Linked DNA regions of Homo sapiens: all the other regions are linked to region 2. Evidence: promoter capture Hi-C in human tissues and cell types (Jung and others, 2019). All regions are on one chromosome and are shown on one strand. The core of a region is centred on a gene start or on the middle of the fragment in contact, and the rest is flanking DNA. Distances in the headings are between cores, read along the strand shown.

Evidence for each region. The method cuts DNA at HindIII sites, captures the fragments that hold promoters and counts their contacts. A contact is called where the count stands out against the background at its distance.
Region 1: the fragment with the promoter of NOSIP here is called in contact with the fragment with the promoter of FTL in region 2 in 1 of the 25 tissues and cell types used here (thymus).
Region 3: a contact is called between the fragment with the promoter of IRF3 here and the fragment with the promoter of FTL in region 2, in 4 of the 25 tissues and cell types used here (dorsolateral prefrontal cortex, hippocampus, pancreas and 1 more).

The regions. Positions count from the first base shown.
Region 1 is chr19:49,579,234-49,582,300 of GRCh38, reverse strand. NOSIP (nitric oxide synthase interacting protein) reads left to right here and starts at 1,745. Exons shown (of 9, transcript NM_001270960.2): 1 at 1,745-1,786. It overlaps PRRG2 (proline rich and Gla domain 2), which reads right to left and starts at 985. Exons shown (of 7, transcript NM_000951.3): 1 at 820-985. The HindIII fragment of the contact is 33,716 bases long and covers 1-3,067 here.
Region 2 is chr19:48,963,709-48,966,614 of GRCh38, reverse strand. It overlaps FTL (ferritin light chain), which reads right to left and starts at 1,306. Exons shown (of 4, transcript NM_000146.4): 1 at 1,006-1,306; 2 at 699-845; 3 at 209-334; 4 at 1-32. The coding sequence starts at 1,107. RefSeq lists enhancers at 1,017-1,066, 2,616-2,725, a silencer at 1,317-1,476 and a cis regulatory region at 2,407-2,906. The HindIII fragment of the contact is 5,012 bases long and covers 1-2,906 here.
Region 3 is chr19:49,663,947-49,667,142 of GRCh38, reverse strand. IRF3 (interferon regulatory factor 3) reads left to right here and starts at 1,286. Exons shown (of 8, transcript NM_001571.6): 1 at 1,286-1,512; 2 at 2,297-2,469. The coding sequence starts at 2,305. It overlaps BCL2L12 (BCL2 like 12), which reads right to left and starts at 1,210. Exons shown (of 7, transcript NM_138639.2): 1 at 1,076-1,210; 2 at 344-458; 3 at 1-124. The coding sequence starts at 450. RefSeq lists silencers at 1,038-1,117, 1,158-1,307. The HindIII fragment of the contact is 43,433 bases long and covers 1-3,196 here.

The sequences.
Region 1 (3,067 bases), core at 496-2,995, 620 kb before region 2:
CCATGTCAAAAACAAAACAAAACAAAACTTTTCACAGGAGTTTTTTTTTTTTTTTTTTTTTAGACAGAGTCTCGCTCTGTCACCCAGGCTGGAGTGCAGTGGCGCTATCTCAGCTCACTGTGACCTCTGCCTCCTGGGTTCAAGCGATTCTCCTGACTCAGCCTCCCGGGTAGTTGAGATTACAGGTGCGCACCACCACGCCTGGCTAATTTTTTGTATTTTTAGTAGAGATGGGGTTTCACCATGTTGGCCAGGCTGGTCTCAAACTCCTGACCTCAAGTGATCCACCCGCCTCGGCCTCCCAAAGTGCTGGGATTACAGGTGTGAGCCACTGCGCCCGACCAGGAGTCCTATTATTATCCCCAGTATAGAGAACAGGAAACTGAGGCACAGAGAGGTAATATAGCTTGCCGAAGGTCACACAGTGTGCAAGTGTGAGAGCCAGGATTTCAGTGAAGGCAGTGTCCGCCAGAGAAGAAAGCAAGGAGCAGGCAGCTTATCTTTCTTTCCCCACTGTGTCTACAGCACCTGACACAGATGCTTATAAACATGTCCACTGGTGATCTGGAGTCTTCCCTTCCTGGTAATTTCCACTTGTGCCTCTTTCTGTGCTCATTGTCACATCCACCCACAGACAACAAAGATTACGAGAGAGGCAGAGGCAGGGGATTAGTTATATTATTGGGTCTAGGGACCTAAGTGGGCAGGGGCCCTGGACTCCTGGGCCTAGGAGCCCCAAACTTCTGGGTCTCGGAGGGGCGGGGAGCCAGGATGCCTGGGTCCCCAAGCCAGGCTCTTCCTCCAGGGACATTCACTTACCTGCCCAGAAATGTGAGCACTGCCCCTTCCTCTTTAATCGAGAACTCCTTGGCCAGCTACAGCCAGCTGTGAAAGGGGACAGGGAAGAGGGGAGGGGATAAGGAGGAGGGGCGCCCCACTCCCGGTAACCAGGCCTGATCCCCGTTTCTGGCAGGTGGGCGGAACTTGCCATTACCTGCCCTGGGCGGGACTCAGGTAAGGGACAAAGTATTTAAAGGGACCTTGGGATAAAGGACTTAAAGGCCAGAGCTCCATGAGGAAGCCAAGGTGTCGAATACCATGGGATACCTGGGGGATTAGATTCGACCCTCCTCCTCCCTCCCGACCCCTACCCGCTCTGGCTCTCCCCTGGGAGTTCGTCTGTCCGAGCTAGAAAAATTAATATCTAGGTCTCTAGGTATCTAGAAACTAGCGGGAACGATATGCCTTAGTCCCTGGGACAGCTGGGCAGTGCCGCAGTAAATCCCTGTTTCCTGAGAGCGACTTGAACGGCTTTGATTTTCAATTTCCCAATGGCTCTGTCTGTAAAATGGGAGCGTAGTTGTCTCTTCTCAATTGTTTTAAGATGCAGCAAGAAAAGTGGATGATATATTTGGGAAAGTGGGCTTCCCGATCTCTAGGGGAAGTGATTAGTCCTTAAATTTGGGCTTGGAGAGACTCAAAACCTGGGAACCAAGCAGGAAAAAACGATCTCCCTGGGAAATGCCTCGTACATAGTAAGCGTTCCCCATATTCCCACCAGTTTCAATATCCGGAACTTTCGATTAGCTACTCACGTTTCCGGAGAGAGAAAGAGAAGAGAGGACTTGAGCAAGCCAGGCGAGGCACTTCCGCAACTAGGGGCAGCTCTACTTCCGGTGCCTTCTGCTGGGCGGAAGTGGGCGGAGCGGAGGGGGAAAATAGTGCTCCTTTCCGGTGTCGGGGCACAGTTGAAGAAGCGACCGAGGGACTGGGAGTCGTTAGTGAGGTGAGTTCGAGGCGGTGCAGGAAGAGTGTTGCTGGGATCGCTTTCCTGCGGGCTAGAGGCCTGGGGTCTTGAGGGAGACTGGGGCAAGATTTTGGATTCCCGATTCCCTGTCAATCATTATTAATACAGCTGTCCGGGCGCCCCAAGTTTGAAGCTGAACTACACTCTGCTGGAGGTGGCCAACCGTCCATCGGGCAGTTCTCTCTCTCTTTGTCTCTCTCTCTCACTATAAACTCAGTCAAGTGGTAGCTAGCATCGGCCAGTTCTCCTGAGAGTTACAGTTCTGCTGTAGATGATGGCTATTTGCTGGTGGTCCCAAGGGAAGGAGTGGACTGGGATTGCTGGGGGTCTAAGGAGTGGGAGTTGAGGAGGGAGAACTCCTTTCCTGGCCTCAGTTTCTCAGACTGTGGTGGGACGGCGGGCGATACTAGATTGTGCAGTCATCCATCGCCACCTTCTCTTCACCTTTTTGACAGCCCCTTCCCTTTCGGGGTTGGTGCAGGGATTCACGTTTTCTTGTGTGGAGCTTCGGGGTCAGGCAGTCATGGATTCCCATTCTGATTGTGCTGCTAATTCTGTGAACTTGGGGCTTGAACGGTCCTTGAGGCAGTTTGATGTTAATGTTTTCTTACGAAAATGTTCAAACTTATATAAAAGTGAGAGAAGAATACAGGAATTCCTGTCACCCAAATCACCAATGATTATTTTTGCCATACTTGCTGTATTTTTTTAAACTTAAAGAGATTAAAACAAATCGTAGGCATCATGACACTTAAGGATTGTCAAAAGACAAAATTGCAACACATTTAGTGAGAAGATCTTAATTGGCATTTATTCGTGAATCTACAATCAAACAACATCTAATTATGGAAAATAGCGTGAGTGTTCCGATGAGCTGAGCAGAGGTTGTTTTCAGAGACAAAGGGCTGAGAAAATCAGAAACGGAAAACAAAAAGCTAGTTGATTAAATTGATTAACTTGATTAAATTTCTAAGTTAAAGGTTAAAGTAGAGGGGACTTCCTTTATCAGGTGGGCTAAAACTGGGTTGTTTGGGGATTTGGCTATTATCTCTCTCCTGATATCTCAGAAGATCAGATATCAACTTAGTTTTGGCTTGGAAGCATGGAACTTTAGCATGAGTGTCTCCATTTTGGTTTGGTCTGTTGAACCTAGTGCAGGAGCTCAATCCAAACCAATGACCTTCTATAAATTTTATCTAACAGGGTGCGTGTGTAAAAACCAGAAACATTGCTGATATGACCACAATACCATCATCACAC
Region 2 (2,906 bases), core at 57-2,556:
TCTAGGAAGTGAGTCTCCAGGAAGTCACAGAGCTGAGAGAGAAGAGGGAGAAATTAGAAACCCAATCCCTGGAAAAGAGGGGGAGAGAGCAGCCAGTTGCAGATTAAAATGTGACAGGTGTGAAATGAGGCTCTGAAGGAAATTTGCCCAAAGGGAGCAGAGGCTTGAGGGGTATGGTTGGGTAGCCATGGATGCAGCGGGTACGTACATGGGGGTCCGTGCGGGCAGAACCCAGGGCATGAAGATCCAAAAGGGCCTGGTTCAGCTTTTTCTCCAGGGCCATGGCAGCTTTCATGGCGTCTGGGGTTTTACCCCACTCATCTTCAGCTGGCTTCTATATAGAAGGGAGAAATGGCTCAGAATACACACACTCGGCACATAGAACTAAACCTACATTTCCCAAGAGTCGTTGGGGGTCAGAGGCCCAGGCCACAAAGACATGTGACAGCTTGTATTTATCACTCTCCGCACCCTGTCCTAGCTCTTACAGCTATACGTCCCTAAGACCACGCAGCGGTGTGGACTGCCGCGTGTTGTGGGCACTGCACGAGGTGCGCCTCTATTTCCAGCGGTTAAGAGGGCTCACAAGACCGAACTCAATCTCCCAGAAGCCCACGCGACACCTACGCCCTCAAATCAAGGCTCCTCGCGCGCACGGCCTGCTGGGAGATGTAGTCCATTACCCACACACTAGTTACCTTGATGTCCTGGAAGAGAGCGCGGCCGCCACGCTGGTTTTGCATCTTCAGGAGACGCTCGTAGCCCTCGCGCTTCTCCTCGGCCAATTCGCGGAAGAAGTGGCTCACGCCTTCCAGAGCCACATCATCGCGGTCGAAATAGAAGCCCTACGGGAAGAGATGGAGGCAACAATGGTTAGCGGGAGGCGAGGCCAAGGGGACTCCGCCCTCTGTTTACCCGACCGCACAAAGAAGGCTGGCGCGTGCAGTGAGGGCCGGAGGTGCGCAGCTGGAGGAAATTAGGGCCAGGGGCGTCCTGGGGACTCACCAGAGAGAGGTAGGTGTAGGAGGCCTGCAGGTACAAATTGACCAGGCTGTTGACGGCTGCCTCCACGTCGGTGGAATAATTCTGACGAATCTGGGAGCTCATGGTTGGTTGGCAAGAAGGAGCTAACCACAAAAACGGTGCTGGCAGGTCCCAGAAGCAGGAGATGGCCGAGAAGATGGTCCCGGAGGTTGCAAGCGGAGAGGAAATCGGAGGGCGGTCGGAGGCTGGAAGAGAGTCCCCGGATCTGTTCCGTCCAAACACTGTTGAAGCAAGAGACAGACCCGCGGGACCGCCGAACTGCGAGGGGACGTGGCTAGGGCGGCTTCTTTTATGGTGCGCCGGCCCTCGGAGGCAGGGCGCTCGGGGAGGGCTAGCGGCCAATCTGCGGTGGCAGGAGGCGGGGCCGAAGGCCGTGCCTGACCAATCCGGAGCACATAGGAGTCTCAGCCCCCCGCCCCAAAGCAAGGGGAAGTCACGCGCCTGTAGCGCCAGCGTGTTGTGAAATGGGGGCTTGGGGGGGTTGGGGCCCTGGGGCTGATTCTGGAAATGCAGGGGTTCGTGGGCGGGAGGGTGGGGGCTGGGGTCCCTCTGGGAGGCTAGAGTTTTATGGGAGCACTAACAGCCCTGTGAACTGATGACCCTGGGGTCCTGGGGTGCCTCGGGAAAGTAAGATTCTGGGGTTTCCGAGGGCATGGATTTTTCTGGAACCTTGAGTGGGGGGAGGGGCACCTCAAAGGTGCAGGGAGGACCTGTAGTTGCCTGAGGTTTGCGCTGCGAGATAAGGAGTCTCCGGATCCTTGGGAAGCTTGGAAGGCTGTGAGGTGTTATTTCTGGACCCCTGGAGATCTCTGGAAGATGGAGTGTTGCGGGGACTGGAGTCCTGGGATTTACAGGGGTGGGGGTTCACGATGCAAACTCTCTATATTTTGGAGCCCTCCCCGGGGAAATCTTTAGGTTCTTGAGGTGCTCTGCAAGTTGGAAAGGGCAGTTATTCTGGAGCCGTGGGTTTCACCCAGTGCGGGAAGCCCAGGAGGAGCATTGTATGAGGTAGGGTGACTTCTGGAACCCTGGACAGCCCTCTGGAACCCTCCAAAGATGGGCTGGGACTTTGGGGATACCTTGGAGCTCTTTCAGGGGCCCAGGCTTTTTCTGGGAGTGGAAATGGGGAGGAATGAAAAGTCTGTTTTGAGCTTTGCGGTGTCTCTGGGATTGCATTTCCTGGAGGCTGTTTTGGAGACAACTCACAGACTTCGAGAATTCTCCGTGGCCCTGAACAGTGTCTCTGAAGTTGCCCTCGTGTCTTGCCTGACGTGTGCTCCTTCAGGCCCACAAAGAGAAGCCCTGCGTTGTGGACAAACAGTCTGGGGACCTATGGACGAGACGTCTGTCTTCGACTAATGCATATTTTTTAAGTGGGCCTGGTCCACGTTGATTTCTGGGAGACGGAGTCGGCGCAAACCTTGACTCTACTTAAGTGCCCTGATGGAGGCAGCCCGTGCGCTGGGCAGGGAGCTGAAGCCACTGGGGTGTGGGGTGAGGTCAGGCCCTGCCCTACAGAGGAGCTGCTCCGAACAGCCCAGGCGGGGCAGCCCCTGACCGAGGGGATCTGCAGATGCCCCGCCAGGCCGGTATCTGGGGTCCTTGTTGCAGGCAGCGACTGCTGAGTCATGCTGAGCTCAGCGCGGGAAGGGGCCCCCGCGGGGACGGATGGGGGTGGGGCCACTCGCTGACCTCATCCCCTTGGCACTCCCCGACTTTTTTGGTGGGACCCTCAGAACTAGACCTGGCTCAGACCCAAATCGGGCCCCCTACCCCAAGGTCCCCCCTTGTTGGAAGCCGGCTGTGTGCTTTGTCTCCGTGTCTTTTTGGTTCCCATAATTTTTTTTTTTCTGGGATCCTGC
Region 3 (3,196 bases), core at 37-2,536, 700 kb before region 2:
GGGGCGGATGGGCAGAGAGCAAGGCCGAGGGGACTCAGAGGGGGCTGCTCCTCGCCCCAGGGAGCAGGGAAGACATCTTCGAAGGCGGCTCAGGAAGTCTGTTGGCTCTTCTTGGGCAGGGCTTCTGGAGAGGAGGACTTCAGAGACTGACCCCACCAGAGATCCCCTGCAAGCAGTCTCTTTCCCCAACTCCCTCCCTCCCCCGCTGAGGACCTCTCTCCAAAACCCCAAAGACAGAGAATAGAGCCAGATATAAAGAGAGGAGACAGACTGAGACCAGGAGCAAGAGTTAGGAGGGAGCCTCAAATGCTGGCCCCTGGGGGAGAAGGGCCACTCCTCTTACCTAGGTGGAGTTGGAACAGGAGACCCGGCAGCCTCACCACGCCTAAGGAAGGCAGCTAGGACCCTCAGCGTGTCTTCCCGGAGCCCCAGCTCTTCAGAGCCTGCCATGGAGGCACCTGTGAGAGAGAGGGTTAGGGACTGGACTCCAAGGGTTTAGCAAGAAGTGGAGGCTTGGGGACCAGGACTTGTGAGTCCCAAGGAAGGTGCTGAGGGCCTGGACTCCTGGGTCCTTTGGAGAGTGTGGGTCTGGGGGCCTAGACTCTTGAGTCCTCAGACGAAAAAGCGATCAGGAAAAAGACTCTTCGATCCAAGGAAAGGTGGTGGGGCTGGGTGCCCAGATTCGTGGGTCTAAAGGAGGAGGGAGCTGGGGTCCTGGACTTCTGAGTCTTAGAGAAAAAGGAACTGGAGCCCCAGACCCTTAGGTCTCCCAGGAAGAAGAGGCTTAGCGCCCCAACTCCTGGATTCTATAAGAGGCATATGCCAAACTCCTGAAACCCTTAAAGCATCGGGAACTACCAATCCCAAGAGGTTTCAGGGCAAATCTTCCCCTAGGTCCGCGCTTCTTCGCCGCGCAGCCTGCTGTGAGGTGTAGTTCCAAATCTCCGACCCCTGCTGGAATCTAGAGGACCCTGGACCCTTGGATATCAGAGAAGCGGGACTGGGGTGCCCACCACTGGATCCCGGCCCCCTCCTCTTCCCTCCTCACCCCACCCCTCGTCAACACCCCGCTGACCTGGTCCGGGGCCCCACCGCCGCCTCCTCCACTCAACTTGCGGTCTCCTCCACTGAACTCGTACAAACTTTATTAGTTCAACTTTCCCGCGCCTGCGCACTGGGCCGGGTCGATAACCGGCCCAGCGTAGAAAGGGCGGAACGCTGGGTGCACGCTCAATTTGCATGTGACGCTCCCAGCATGCCTCTGGCCGGAAACCCAAAAAAGGGCATAGGGGCGGGAACAGCCCAGCGGGCCGTCCCATCGGCTTTTGGGTCTGTTACCCAAAGAATGATAAAGTTGGTTTTATTTCAAGAAGTCGATCAAAAAGAAAGCCCCAGCGCTCTAGAGCTCAGCTGACGGGAAAGGGGGTGCGCAGCCTCGAGTTTGAGAGCTACCCGGAGCTCCAAGACAGGGGTGGGTTCCAGCTGCCCGCACGCCCCGACCTTCCATCGTAGGTAACGCGGAAGAGCCCGGGAGAGCGTTGGTGGCGTCCGAGAGCGAGGAGCGGGAAAGAGGATGGGTCTGCACGGAGAGTGGAAAGGCAGGCTGTGTACTCTGGGGAAAGTGGAGCAAGGAAGGAGCTACAGTGGCCGACGCTGGAGGTCGGCTGCAGAAAAACTAGAAAAAGTAGGGAGGAAAGAGGAAAAGAGGAGGCGTCTACACTGAGGGGGTTCTAGAGAGGGAGGGGTGGACTCCGTAGATGGGGGTAGTTCAGTCTCGAAACCTGGGGCGTGCTCTGTCCTGGAGGAGGGAGGCGGGCAGTCGGAGGGGAATTGAATGGAAGTTCTGTGTTGGAAATGTTTTGGGAGATCTTCTGTAGGGGGACTGTGGAAGGGGGTCTACATTGGGGTAAGTGCAGGAGGTAGAGGCTTACACGTGAATCGATTCTGCACTGAAATAACTAGGGAAAGAGGATGCTACCCTGAAAGTGGGGATACTTACTTTCGATGATGTGGGGGAGGGAGGAGGTCTATACTGGCGGAATTGAGGGAGTGGAGGGTCTGCACTGAAGACGCTGGGGAAGGATGTGCCATGGATATGGGAAGGAACCCTAGCTGATTAGAGAGCCTCTCGGGAGGATGGGAGGATGGGAAGAGGAGGTTTCCTGTTTGTACCCCCGAAAATATGGGTGAAGGACCTGTGCCGTGGCCCGTGAGAAGGAGGTCTGGGTGCGGAAACTCCAGGCCAGGTGGGTCCGGGGGAGGCCGGTCGCGCCCAGGAAATGCCCTATACGCGCAGGCCGGACCATGGGAACCCCAAAGCCACGGATCCTGCCCTGGCTGGTGTCGCAGCTGGACCTGGGGCAACTGGAGGGCGTGGCCTGGGTGAACAAGAGCCGCACGCGCTTCCGCATCCCTTGGAAGCACGGCCTACGGCAGGATGCACAGCAGGAGGATTTCGGAATCTTCCAGGTGCGTGCGACGACCTGGGACGCTGGAAACCCGGAGCTGCGCGCTGGGCGGAAAGGACTCCTAGTGGGCCCGGCTGAGAAGGCGGAGGTGGCGCGCGAGGGGCGGGCTCGTGCCAACGCTGGTGGGTGGGGCTAGAACGGGAGGGGCGGGGCTAGCCGGATCCGCTGACTGATGGTGGGGCGCAAGCAGGGTTGGAGCTGCAGGGTTACGGGAATAAAACCGGGAAAGCCGGTTAGTACGCAAAGGAAATGCATCCTGGGGGTTTGGGGCTTTCTAGAGGCCGGGGCTCTTGGTTGTAGGATAGATACTGGGGGATGGTTCTTGAAACATCAGAGGTGAGGCCTGGAGCCCCAAATCTGAGGTTCCTAACTACCGAATTAGTATATGCCAGAGGTGGTAAACAGTGTGAGGGGCGGGGTTATCACAGAGGGTGTCGCGGGGCAGGTGGTGCACGGGATTAGACACCAAGTTGGACTTGGAAGCCTGGCTTAGAAAGAAAAGGTTTTTGGGCCGGGGGCGGTGGTTCACACCTGTAATCCTAGCACTTTGCAAGGCCAAGGCGGGAGGATCGCTTGAGCCCAGGAGTTTGAGGCCAGCTTGGGCAACATAGGCTCCATCTCTTTAAAAACAAAAGCGAAACAAAACAAAAACCAAAGAGGTTTCAAAGGCTTTTGAAGAGGCCGAGCACAGTAGCTCATGCCTGTAATCCCAGCACTTTGGGAGGCCG